Regions from separate parts of the Homo sapiens genome. Here region 1 is linked to region 2. Evidence: promoter capture Hi-C in human tissues and cell types (Jung and others, 2019). All regions are on one chromosome and are shown on one strand. Each heading gives the region's core, a stretch centred on a gene start or on the middle of the fragment in contact. The rest is flanking DNA. Distances are from core to core; before and after follow the strand shown. Region 1 overlaps ERI3 (ERI1 exoribonuclease family member 3). Region 2 holds the start of SLC6A9 (solute carrier family 6 member 9).

Evidence for each region. The method cuts DNA at HindIII sites, captures the fragments that hold promoters and counts their contacts. A contact is called where the count stands out against the background at its distance.
Region 1: a contact is called between a fragment that was not itself captured here and the fragment with the promoter of SLC6A9 in region 2, in 1 of the 25 tissues and cell types used here (bladder).

Annotation. Positions count from the first base shown.
Region 1 is chr1:44,315,006-44,320,316 of GRCh38, reverse strand. ERI3 (ERI1 exoribonuclease family member 3) reads left to right here. Exons shown (of 9, transcript NM_024066.3): 4 at 573-689. Among named protein-coding and RNA genes, the nearest start is that of ERI3, 38 kb to the left of the region's middle. The HindIII fragment of the contact is 6,119 bases long and covers 1-5,311 here.
Region 2 is chr1:44,029,583-44,035,738 of GRCh38, reverse strand. SLC6A9 (solute carrier family 6 member 9) reads left to right here and starts at 4,277. Exons shown (of 14, transcript NM_001024845.3): 1 at 4,277-4,433. LOC107984948 (a long non-coding RNA gene) reads right to left here and starts at 5,325. Exons shown (of 2, transcript XR_007066054.1): 1 at 5,190-5,325. LOC124904168 (a long non-coding RNA gene) reads left to right here. Exons shown (of 4, transcript XR_007066055.1): 1 at 1-56; 2 at 314-484; 3 at 1,419-2,094; 4 at 3,012-3,196. RefSeq lists enhancers at 1-1,028, 4,547-5,143, 5,785-6,156 and silencers at 4,736-4,805, 5,126-5,675. The HindIII fragment of the contact is 16,348 bases long and covers 1-6,156 here.

The sequences.
Region 1 (5,311 bases), core at 1,767-4,266, 290 kb before region 2:
CCTGAAAGGTGGGAGGCGCTAGCTCCTATTACTGTTACTCTTTTCTCCTTCTCTTTGGGATCCCCTTTGGCTTTATTTTTTATCTTTTTTTGAAAAATAAGAACTAATGAAGAAACTTACCAGCTTGGTTCAAACTTCATACAAGGAAATCTATGCATTGGTCTGATGGCTGGTTGTCTATATGGCAGGAGATCAGACCCATTTCAGGACAGGGACCTGGGCAAGAGAAAGAAGGGCGTATTCTTAGGGGCTCAAGTTAGCAAGCCTCTGCTAGAGAACCAGTTGGAGAAACTGGGGCAGATGATACCACTGTCTTCCTTCCCATTTCCAGAAACAATGGGGATGAGGGCTGTGTTCAGTCCCTGGAACCTATGAGGATATTAGCAGTGGGAAGGTTAGGATTGTAACTGCTGGTGCCGTCTCACTCAATCTTGGGTTTGGCCTGGCAGGAGCTAATGAACCCAAAACACTAATGAATCCAAAACACTCATTCTTTGTTGACTTGGAGCTACTGTTGGAAATGGTTGATTACAATAACTTATTTTTCCTTTTCTGTATCTTTGGCACTCCAGGAAATCATCGAGTTCCCCATCCTAAAGCTAAATGGCCGGACCATGGAGATTGAGTCTACCTTTCACATGTATGTCCAGCCTGTAGTCCATCCACAGCTTACCCCATTCTGTACAGAGGTAAGGGCCCTGGAAGTGGGCAGCAGGGGCTGCTGGGAGGGGAATTTTGGAATCCTTGGTGCTCTATATAGGCCACTTAGAGAAAGCATAGGGCTTATCAATCCTTAAGGCAAGTGCACACTAGACCTAGCAGTTAGGTTTTATGAAGTCTGCCACTCCACTCAGGTCACTGTTGTTACTGGGGACCCAGGGAGAGCAGTGGCTTAGTCTACCCCTGCTTCCCCAGCATCCCTTCCTGGTGACCGGCACTTGGAGACCAGGAGCAGAATGGCATTTCTGGGGTTCAAGTTCTTTCCAGTTCAGTTTTCCTTAGGGCCCCTTGGCAAGAGGTAAAGATTTCAGCCACTTGGAAGGCAGGGTTATGTTCAGGCCTTCTTAGCTTTCTGGCATTGTTACTCTGTCCTCCTGTAAAGTGGTCCTGTGTGAAGCGTAGGTTGAGTTTGTCGAAGGTACATTCTGTCACCGAGGGAAGAGAAGAGTGGTCTCAGTGAAGCATGAGACCTGGCTGGCCAAGGCTGAAATCTGCTTATCCTAGGTGGGTACTGTACTTGGCCTCCTTGTCAGCAGGTTAGTATTGGTTGCATTTTACAGATTGTGAAACTGGGCCTAACTGAGATTTTAATGATTGCTGGAGGCTCAAAAGAGCCATTGGCAGAGGGGAGGAGCCCCTGCAAGTTCTAACTCCCAGAACTGTGTGAAGTCTTCTGTGGCTACTTTTCCCTGTGACATGTCATGTAATGCACTCAGTGGTGGCCAACAGGCTGTGGTGCAATCAGGGGTTAAGAATGTGTGGTAGCAGGGGTGATGAGAATCTTTTAAGAGTCTGGGGCTGAGGTACATTAGAGACTTTGTGCCTTCATTTAGAGACCTATCTTCTACATGTGAATGAAATAGGTGAAAAAGGGTTCTTGAGTTATCCCAAACAGTCTCCTTGGTAAGAAGGCTGGGGATGAGCCTGTTTGACCCTGGTGGGCCCTGAGGCTGACTTAGCCCAGACAGGAGGTCTCGAGGTTGCTCCTGAATTCGATGCCAGTGTTTGCCAGCTGACCCAGGTGGGGCTTTTGTTGCAGGCATCCATCTGCCAAGGCGCCTAGCCTCTTAAGCCTTTTGTTATTCCAACTAATGATGTTGGGTTCTGGTTTTCGCCTTCCTCTGCCGGGGTTTCCCCTTTCCCCTGGGATTTACCTATACCACCAGGGGGCGCTAATCTGACTTTTCTGCCCTTTTTGAAAAATCACCATTTTAATGATGATGAAAATTCCCTTGCTTATGCGAAGGGAAGGAAAGACTTTCTTTAAGCCAGCCAGTTACCTGAGCCCTCCACTGGCCTTGAAAGGCTAATGTCCTCTTGTCCTTACGTAGACAGGCAGGCCCAAATTTTAGTAAGTTTGCTACCTGTTTAGGAATGTAACAGTATTCTGCTGGAGCTGGACCCTGGGCAGGAGTGGATGCTTGAGAGTATCGGAAGAAGAGGGACTTCTTTTAGAGTAAGGCTGCTGCTGCTACTTTTTGTGGGAATGGGAGGAGGGATTGTGAGACTATGATGAACAGTTTCTTCTCTCTAGAAAGCTTCACCCAAGGATGCACATACATAATTTGGAGGGGAGTAGGAGTGGTAGTTGGGATCTTTATTATGAAGGCTGTTCTAAAAGTGAAAATGTGGTTGTTCTGTAGGCACCGGGTCTGCCATTTTGTCTCAGGTTTCCAGAGCTCAAAACTCGCCATGATCTTGTCCATCCTTTTTTGGCCAGCCTCATATCTCTCTGCTTCATCTCCCACCTAGCTCCCCTCACCCAGAGGTTGCCCTCTTACAGTCTGTCTTTTCACATGATGGTCCTCCTGCCTGCACAGAGTTCCCACTCTCCCCGCCAACTCCTGCTTGACCTCCAGGACTCTGCTTAGGGTCACTTTCCCTGATCCCCAGATTGAGTTGTGCTTATTCCAACATAGAACTGATCAGATACTTTATACTATAATTATTTATCTGTCTTTTCACTAGACTATAAGTTCTTTGAGGGAAGAAACTAGACCTGATCCATCTCCATCCCATCATTAGGGTCTGCTACCAAGTAAACACTTGATACGTGTCCCTTAAATGAATGAATATTGTCAAGGAGTTATTTTCTGTCTCTCCCAAAAACAACTGTACTGCTGACTTGTTATTTTGAGTAAGTAAGTAAAGTCTTGTTTGGAAAACCTCAGATCATATATATTTTGCCCTGTCTCCATACCAGATGGAATTGTATCTCCGAGAGGCATAGACACAGGATGGGGGCTGTCATTCTGAAACCTCATCCAACCTGGCAGTTGGTGCCTTTTGCGGGTGGGGATGGAGGTCATTCCAACCAGAGAAAATCTCTCATTAGTAAGTGTGAGGAACAGTCCCAAACCTCCAGATTATACTTAAGTAGTTCCTCTGGCAGGATTTTCTCTCTTGTGCACAAGAAGTTCTTAACCCCAGTGTGTGTGTGTGTGTGTGTGTGCACGCACATGCGTATGACATGTGCACACACATGGGCACATGCTTGGGGAGAGAAGCAGGCTCAGTGCTGGACAGTAGGAAGAAGGATTCCAGTTTGAACAAGTCTCTAGCACACACAGAGAGACTCCTACTTTTACTGCTTCATATTAGGAATGTGTTAGTACCCTTCTTGAGGTCCCTTCTTAGTTTCAGTTGAGAGTCGGCCTGGAGACGTGGTTCTGACAGAGATAGGATGGGATGTGTTTCATTCCTTCCCGAGCCCTTTCCCTTTGACCTCTAGAATCTGCTCCAGTTCATCAAGTCTCTATCTCTAGCAGCTGGGCTGCTGCACAGTCCCTAACCATGTCTTCTTTTTGTTGTTGTTATCATGAAAAAAAAACTAGAGAAATACTCATTTTGCTAAGTGCCAGTAAAGGGCTTTGTCTTGCACCTGTACTTATAAAGGGTGAGATTTATTGGTCTCTTTGTCTGAAGAGAAAGAGTGGGTCTGATTATCAGATTGCACACCAGAGACAAGTGCTTATGTAATCAACAAACTGTCTTGGTGTCAGAATACGATTGTGTTGGAGATAAACTGTGAAAGGAGAAAGCACTGGATGCTGACATGCTATTGGCACTGAGTTTCCTGGGCTGCTTCCTGTAGTTGCTAGTGTTCTTGATGAAGCCAGCTCATTCCTGGACAAAGCCCTTGTGAGGGTAGGGGATCTCAGTAACCAGCCATGTTATCAGTCAGGGTCAAAAGCCCCTTGCCTTGTGGTTTCTGAGTCTGGAGAAGTGGGAGTTAATCTGTAATCCCTCATTGAAAGGAGCCACAGAGCACACATTAATTCTTCCTCTCACCTCTCCTGCTTTAAGTGGCTAAGGTCTCTGAGCTCTGTTTAGCCTGTGAGCCCTGGTTCTCAGCTTAGTAATACTTGGCTTTGCTCTAGTACCTTTCATTGTAAGGAGTGAAAGCTTTTTACAAACATGTATTAACCCAAGTGGGACTGGGCTTAAACTGTAACATGAAGGATTTAAGTTAGGCCTAAGATAGAACTTCCCAGTATTAATTTGATAAAATTGTCTCGTTCCCTCATAGCATCCTGTATAAACCTTACACGTGTCTTATAGGTCATTAGTATCAGGTAGAGGAACTAATTTTTACTTAAAAAAAAAAAAAAAAGATGGGGTCTCTCTATGTTGCATAAGCTGGTCTCAAATTCTTGGGCTCAAGCAGTCCTCCTGCCTTAGCCTCCCAAAGGGCTGGGATTGCAGGCTGAGCCACCATGCCCAGCCCAGAACTAACTTTAATTTCATCCCTTCTTTGTCCAGTGCCTTGGCAGAGCTGAAAAGGGGTGGTCCATCCTTGGAGGGATTAATACAGGAGCCTGAGGCCTTCCCTGAGAAGGCTTTGTCTAGCTGAGCCAACTGCTCAAGCCCCTGTGTCTCTGGGGGCTAAATGCAAATCCTTGAGGAGCTCAGCTGTGAGCCATGCTTTACTGAGCCACAAATGAAAATGGCTGTTGTCTGGGAAGCATGGTGAGAGAAGGAGCTGACCTCACTAGGCTCCTCCCAGGCTGATGATTCTAGGATCACTGAGCACTGGAGTGGAGTTTGTGAAAGCCCCAGGATGCTGGAGCTCCATTTCCCCAGCTCCAGGTGGGAGAGTTGGGTTTAGTCTGCAGTGAGGCATCCTGCAGCAGAACACCAGAGCAGCACCCTGGTTTTCCATTTTGGTGTAGTGATTTTCTTGCCCCACATCAGTGATTTTCCTGGGGCCCAGGGCAGGGGCTTATGGGGTACACACAGGTGCTGACCTAAGCCTTATCTCCAGGGAGGGAGGGCTCTTGGCAAGGGTGCATTGCTTTCCTGTGTGAGTGAGACTTTCTTTAAGCCCTTGGCATTCAGCTCATTTGAGAGACCCTTGGTGGGAGCCAAGAGAAGGAGTGGACCTAACCTTGCCGCCTGAAACTCAGACCAGACACAAGACTAACATTTGGACCCTGGAGCTTCCTAAGAAGTGAGAGTGGCTGTGGTCCGCCTTTTCCAGGATGGTCCTGATGTTGAGCCTCAGCTCCAGGCCTGAAGATGTGTCTAAGCCCTAGGCTTAACAGGAGAGAAGCTGGACCAGAATGGGCAGCGGTGGGCCTGTGGGTGTCTG
Region 2 (6,156 bases), core at 3,028-5,527:
AGCAGGGGCAGGAGCAGTAGGAGAAATCTTTAGCCCTGCAGCAGGGCAGCTCTGGGGTCAGTCTCTAGCTCAGGAACCAGCCTGTTCCTCCCTACAGTGAGGCCTGACCCTCAGTACCTCGGGTCTGAGGGGAAGGGGGGCCTTACTTCCAATCCTTGAAATAGCAGTGAGGCAAAGAGAGATTATTAGGATGGCCAGACAGACGGACACAGCCAGACCCACCATAATAGTCACACACATTAACTTGCTGATGTGGGCTGCAGGCACAGCCTCACGCCAACACCATCACACTCACAGCCATTCATTCTCATAGCCATGCCCACAGCTACACGTGGGCCACAGATGGCTGAACCACACGGACATACCAGCACAGGCACAATGTCACCTGTCCCATCTGGGAGAACAGGAACCCCTTCTCTCTCACGGTTGTACTCCCAGAGAGGAGCTCAATTCCCAGCACATGGCAGATGCGCACTAATATTTGGTGAGTGAATAAATGGACATTCAGTGCCACAGGGCCTGTGACCAGGCTGGGCTGAGGCCAGAGGGAACGCCATCCCACCTGCAAGCCTGCTCGACCTCTCCAGACCCAGGATGGGAGCATCGAGGAAGAACTACAACTGCCAGCACCACCCCAGCCCCAACTTCAGTCATGGCCACTCCTCAGATAATAGGTCACTGAAGGGACCTCGGTTATGTAGGGACCCTGGTTATGCAGGGACCCCACTCCCTCCCTCCAGGTGCAGTGAATTGGAACACTGGCACTCTGAAAATGGAATGTTATGAACATTGGGTGCTCTGGATGTTGGGTACCCCAGGCCCCCTGGAATTTGGCACTGGGGGCTCTGGGTTTTGGGTCCTCTACAGTGTTGGGTGCTCTGGCACCCTTGACATTGGGAATTCAGGACTTTGGGAGCTCAAAGCGATTGAGGAGTCTGGGTGTTGAAAGCTCTGGAGATTGGGGCTGCCCCTTGGACAACGCCAAAGTCAATACTTCCTGTCTATATGCCTGATTTTACCTGGAGCCACTGAGGTCCAGCCCGGAACCCCTGTTCTGAACCCCATGATTGGCTTATGCTGCCCCAAGGCTGGGGTGGCAGGGCTGGGGTGGCGGGGTTTCAGGGGTAGAGAAACCACAACAGGATGGCCTAAGGGGTACCTGGAGCCCCAGAGACAGCTCTCAGGTCTGAAACCAATCTAACCTGCTCCTCTGCATTGGGACAGGGCAGTGGAGGTGCCAGGCACTGACCACTGGGCTCCAGGTTCAAGAAAGGAAGAATCTGAGAGCAGAGCCCAGGCAGGCACCTCCCAGTAATGCTTCCTGGCTACTGAGGCTGGGGTTCTAAGGAGGTGGAGACCCCTGGCCAGGCCTGGCTTCAACTACAGGCAATGTCCACCCTCCCCCACCTTCTCAGCAGGCCCCCAGCACCACTCCATCAAGGTGCCCAGTGCTGCCAGCTCCTGCAGTGACCACCAGAAGTGGCCCAAGTCTGGCATTATTCATATTCCTACTAGACACACACCTAAGCTGACTATGTGCATCTCGAAACAGAGGCCTTGATCCTGCAGGCTGATGACACCACTCGAGGAAACCAGCCAGCCCTGGGGGCTCTGACGCTGGATGCAGCCCTCCCAGGAAATAGCTCCACTGGCTGCAGTAACTGGAGGCTCCTGAGCCACATTTCAGCCTGCAGTGGGTGGTGGGTGGGCCCCAGCCCAACTGCTGCCCTGCCCCAGGAAGAAGCAGGCCCGTCAAAATGTCTGACCCCGTCCGTCCCCCATCCCCTCCCCTGCCCCAGTCTGTCCTCAGTCCTGATCCCCCTGCCCGCCCCACAGTGGCCCAGGCTGGCCATGCCCTTCCCACCCTGCAGGCCAGCTGCTCAGAGCCAGGGGCTCACAGCCAGGGACGGAGGCTATCCCAGCTCCCACCCGGGCTGGGCCCAAACCTGCCTCCTTTGGGCCTCATTCTGATTGGAAAAAAACAGCCTCTCTAGTCCCTGTCTCAGGAAGATGACTTTTCAAACCAGAATCTTTCTCACAAGTGTCTCCTCAGGACACAGCTGTGTGGTTTCCTGAAGCTCTTTCTGGTTCAAGGTGGGTAAAACACACATATCCATGAATCTGTTTCTATGTATACAAATAGACTTTGAGCTATGCCAGTGTTAGTCTAATAAAGCCCTCTGGCCAACATCCCCAATCTCCCTAAACACTCCAAGGAAAATTTTCTCTTCACCCCACGTCCCTGTCCCTAGGTTAGTCCCCAAGCCTTCCTCTTTCTGACGGAGCCTCAGAGGGCTGGCCCCTGAGCACCCATCCTCCTCTCTTCTAACAGCCCAGGCCCCAAGCCCCTAGGCCTGAGGGCATCCTGGAAGTCTGGCTTGCAGCACCCTACACCTGCCTCCCTTCATATGGATTCCCTGAGCCATGAAAACTCTCGGAATCTTCACTGAGTGTTCTTAGCGCTCAGTGCCCTCTTCTAGGCCTGTCCCCACCCCAGCCTACTGCTGGAAGGGAGAAGGAGGGAGGCCTTTTCCCCTTCATACTCTTCCTTGTCCGCCTTCCTCTACTTGGGGGCCTCTTCGACATCCTCCATCTGCCTTCCCTGGGGTGGTATCCCTTTTGATGAGCCCCAGCGAGGAGGCAAGGAGGAAGATCCTAAAAAAAACTTATGGAGGAAGTTACGTCCTGGCAGGAGAGATATAGAGGGCTTGGACCCCATCTGCCCAGTCCCAGGAATTGAGCACACACATAACTACACAGACCTGCTGCAGTGCACACAATCAGTCTTCCACAGATGTACCTACACAAATACACAATCGGGGCTCAGGTGTCTGGGGGCACAGACACAACAGGTTGCCTAGATCCAGGTGTGTGTGCACACAACTCACGCAAGAAACACCTGCACTTGGCTTGTAGGAGACTAAAAATCCCAAACATGCTATACCTACTAGGTTTGGGGACAAAGTAAAAGTGAAAATAATCTCGCTGATAAGACTAAGGTGTCTTCCCAGATCTGATCAGGAGTCCAATGTGAATAGGAGACAACAGAGAGCTGTCTTTGTACTTTGGCTCTGAGGAAGGTTTGTGGAATGGACCGCGTGTGGCCTGAGAGAGCTCGCATTTCAGGGAATGCCTGGGCTTGATGCCTGTTATCTTGTTCAGTGCCTCTGATAAATTAATAAACTGGAATCTCACTCAACAATTGGTTTCACGTGAGTTTGGCATGTGTGCACTCGCTTCTTGGAGGCTGACTGTCCCAAGGAAAAAAATTAAACTGTTTCCTGGCCAGAAAATGGTGAGGACTCAGGGTCCAAAGTAGAAATTGCCTCTGTGGGCTGGGCCCCTTCCCTGAGCAGATGCCCTACTCAGGTTGGGGCAAAAACCAGTTCCTCTGACAGAACTAACTGGCCACTCTCCATGAAAGGTGGTGGCTCTCACAAGGTATGCAAATGTGGGAGGCTCATTCCAAATGCCAGCCACCACTCCCCAGAGGCAGCCTGGAGCAATGGGCTTTATATACACACACATGCATTTCCTTAGCCCCTTCTCTCTGTTTCACAGAGGAGGAAACCGAGGCTCACCATGCTCCTTTTGGCAAAGACTCTTTTTTAGCTGAGATTGTAACCCAGGTCTGTCTCACCATGGAAGGAGGAGGGATCCCAGGTTGGTGTCTGCAGCCCCTGTAACACCACCTCAAAAGTAGAGCTGACCAAGCCGGTGGTCCAGGAGGGAAATTTGAGAAAGGGCTACCCCGAGCCCTCCAGTTCCAAGGAGTAGGACCTAGGCCTTACCCAGCAATGCCCACAGTCTCTAGCGGCTCTGCTCCAAAGGGAATGGAATTTGCTCTGACTTCTCTCTAGGGGAAACGCAGGCGCAGAAGGCCAGGGGCCTGGAGGGCTAACTCCAGCCTCAGCCCCCCATAGTGCCCCAGGCCTTCTGGCTTCATTCCAGCCTAGCCCGAAGGGGCCCACATCTGCTTGCTCAAGGGCCCCAGCTGGAGGGCAGCGAGGCAGGGGCGGAGAAGGGGACTCCTTTGTGGCGCTCACTCCCAGGGGTTCGTGGGGATCAATCATCTGAAAGCTGGAGAGACTTGTAATTTTATTCCCTGGGAGGAGGAGCCTGAGAAGTCGGCACGGGAGGAGGGGATGGGATGGAGAGGGGAGGACGGCCAGGGGAGCCGTTCGGGTAGGGGAGGGACTTGGCTAGATCTCCCAAGCCTTCTCCACTCTTCAAACTTTCACCAAACTCTTAGCCCCCGCCTCCCCGAAACCAAAACACAACAGGCTGTGGAAGAGCTGCGAGCGGCGCGGCGGGGCGGGCGAACTCGGCGCGGCACAGAGCCTCGGGAGGCTGATGCAACTTTCCCTTTAAGAAAGCCACCTGGGCGCACCGCGGTGCGGACCCAGCACGCCTGGGCCGGGGGCTGCAGCATGGTAAGGGGGCTGGGGGAAGGGACGCTGGGGCCCGCGCCTCCGTCTGTCCTGCCGTCGGTCTGAGTGTTCGGCGGCTCCGCGGGGCTGAGCCCCAGGACCAGCGTGTGCGTGTGTGTGTGTGTGTGTGTGTGTGTGTGTGATCGCGCATGTATGCGGGCATCTGTGGGTAAGAGTGTGGGTGCACGCACCGGGATGTCTGTCTCGCCGCAAAGATCGGGGTAGGTGCGCGCGTCTGGGTGTCACCGCTGTCACCAAGGAGCTGAAGCGGGAGGGAGAGGGAAGTGGGGGGAGCTCCTGCGTGGGGTGGCGGGGGGGCGCCAGACGCCGGTTCGATCGGGGGCGGCGGGCGCAGGCTGTGCGGGTAGCGCCGGAGCCAGAGCGTGGCACTGTCCGTCCGAGGAGCCAGTGGTTCTGCGCTCTGGGGGCCTGCAGGGGTCGACAGTCGGCCGTGCCTGCACCCAGCGTGCGGGCTCCCGCTCGCTCCATCGCCTCTCAGCGCCCGCCAGCCTGGCTGCCTATCTGGCCCCTCCAGCCGGCCTGCCTCCCTATCTGCCCTCCCGGTGCCGGTTCCAGTGCCCGTGCGCCCGCGGGACCCGGGAAGCCGCGCGGGAGAGTCCTGGCGCACTCAGCCTCTCTTTGTCCGCGCTCTGGCCGCGGCTTTGGGAAGGGACTGCGAGCGAGCCGGGAGTTCTCTGGGGGTTGCTACCCTGGGAAGAATCCGTGCCCTCCCCACCCCAACCCTCATTACCGGCACACCTAGGGCGGGGCCGGGCGGCCGCAGGTGAGGGCAGGGGCCTAGCAGCCCTGGAGAGCCCACCCCCGGCCGGCGCTCCGCACCCGGCAGCCACTGCAGATCTCGAGCAGGCGGCGGGGCCGGGCCGGGCGGGAGAGTGGGGCTTGCCCGGAGGGCCGGGAGGGGCCGGTGCCGGCCCGGGGGCGGGGCCGTGGGGCGGGGACCTCGGCGCCCCGGTACTTTTCCACCGCAGGGGCCGGGGGCGGGGCCGCCGCCTCCACGCCAGCTTAGGCCCACACGTGGCGGCTGATGTAACGCCCGTGCCCCCACATCTCTCTCCCCGATTAAAGCGGACGCGCCCCACTTCGAGGAACCGGGACGCTGCGGGCGGTGCCGCTGCTCCCAGACCGACCGCGCCCCTGCCCGCCGGCCGGAGGCCTCCGCGCCTCGGGCCGGCGGATACTTAAAGGAGCCGCACCCCCTTTCGGGCCTGCTCTCCGCAAGCCACACCCCCTCGCGGATCACTCTTAAAGGAGACGGGACGCTTGCTCGCTGACAGCTTCCGCACAAAGCGCGGTCTATTTCTCCGCTGAAAGGAGCGTGAGGGTGCGGCCGTTGGGAAATAAAGGCTGCAGGGCGAGGAGTGGGGAAAGAGAAAAACCTGAAAGGTTAAAGACTGCCAAAGTGAGGGAGCATCAGAAGGTTGGAGAGTAGTGGGTGAGGGGACTGGTTCTAGGGACTAATGGGCGACACTGAGCATGCCCAAGTGTTTCCAAGGACCGCAGAGAAAACGCCCCCTTTACTTGGCCTATGCGGCGACTGCGGCTGTACCTGCTCAGTTCCCGGCTCTGGGGACACAGAAGAATCACGCCTCTGCCCTGGTAGAACTCTCCATCTAGTGGGGAGCCAGACTTGGGCACAAGGAAGCATGCCTCAATTGCTACGTGTGGCAAGCGTGGGGGTACAGTAGGAAGGCTGACAGCAACGGGG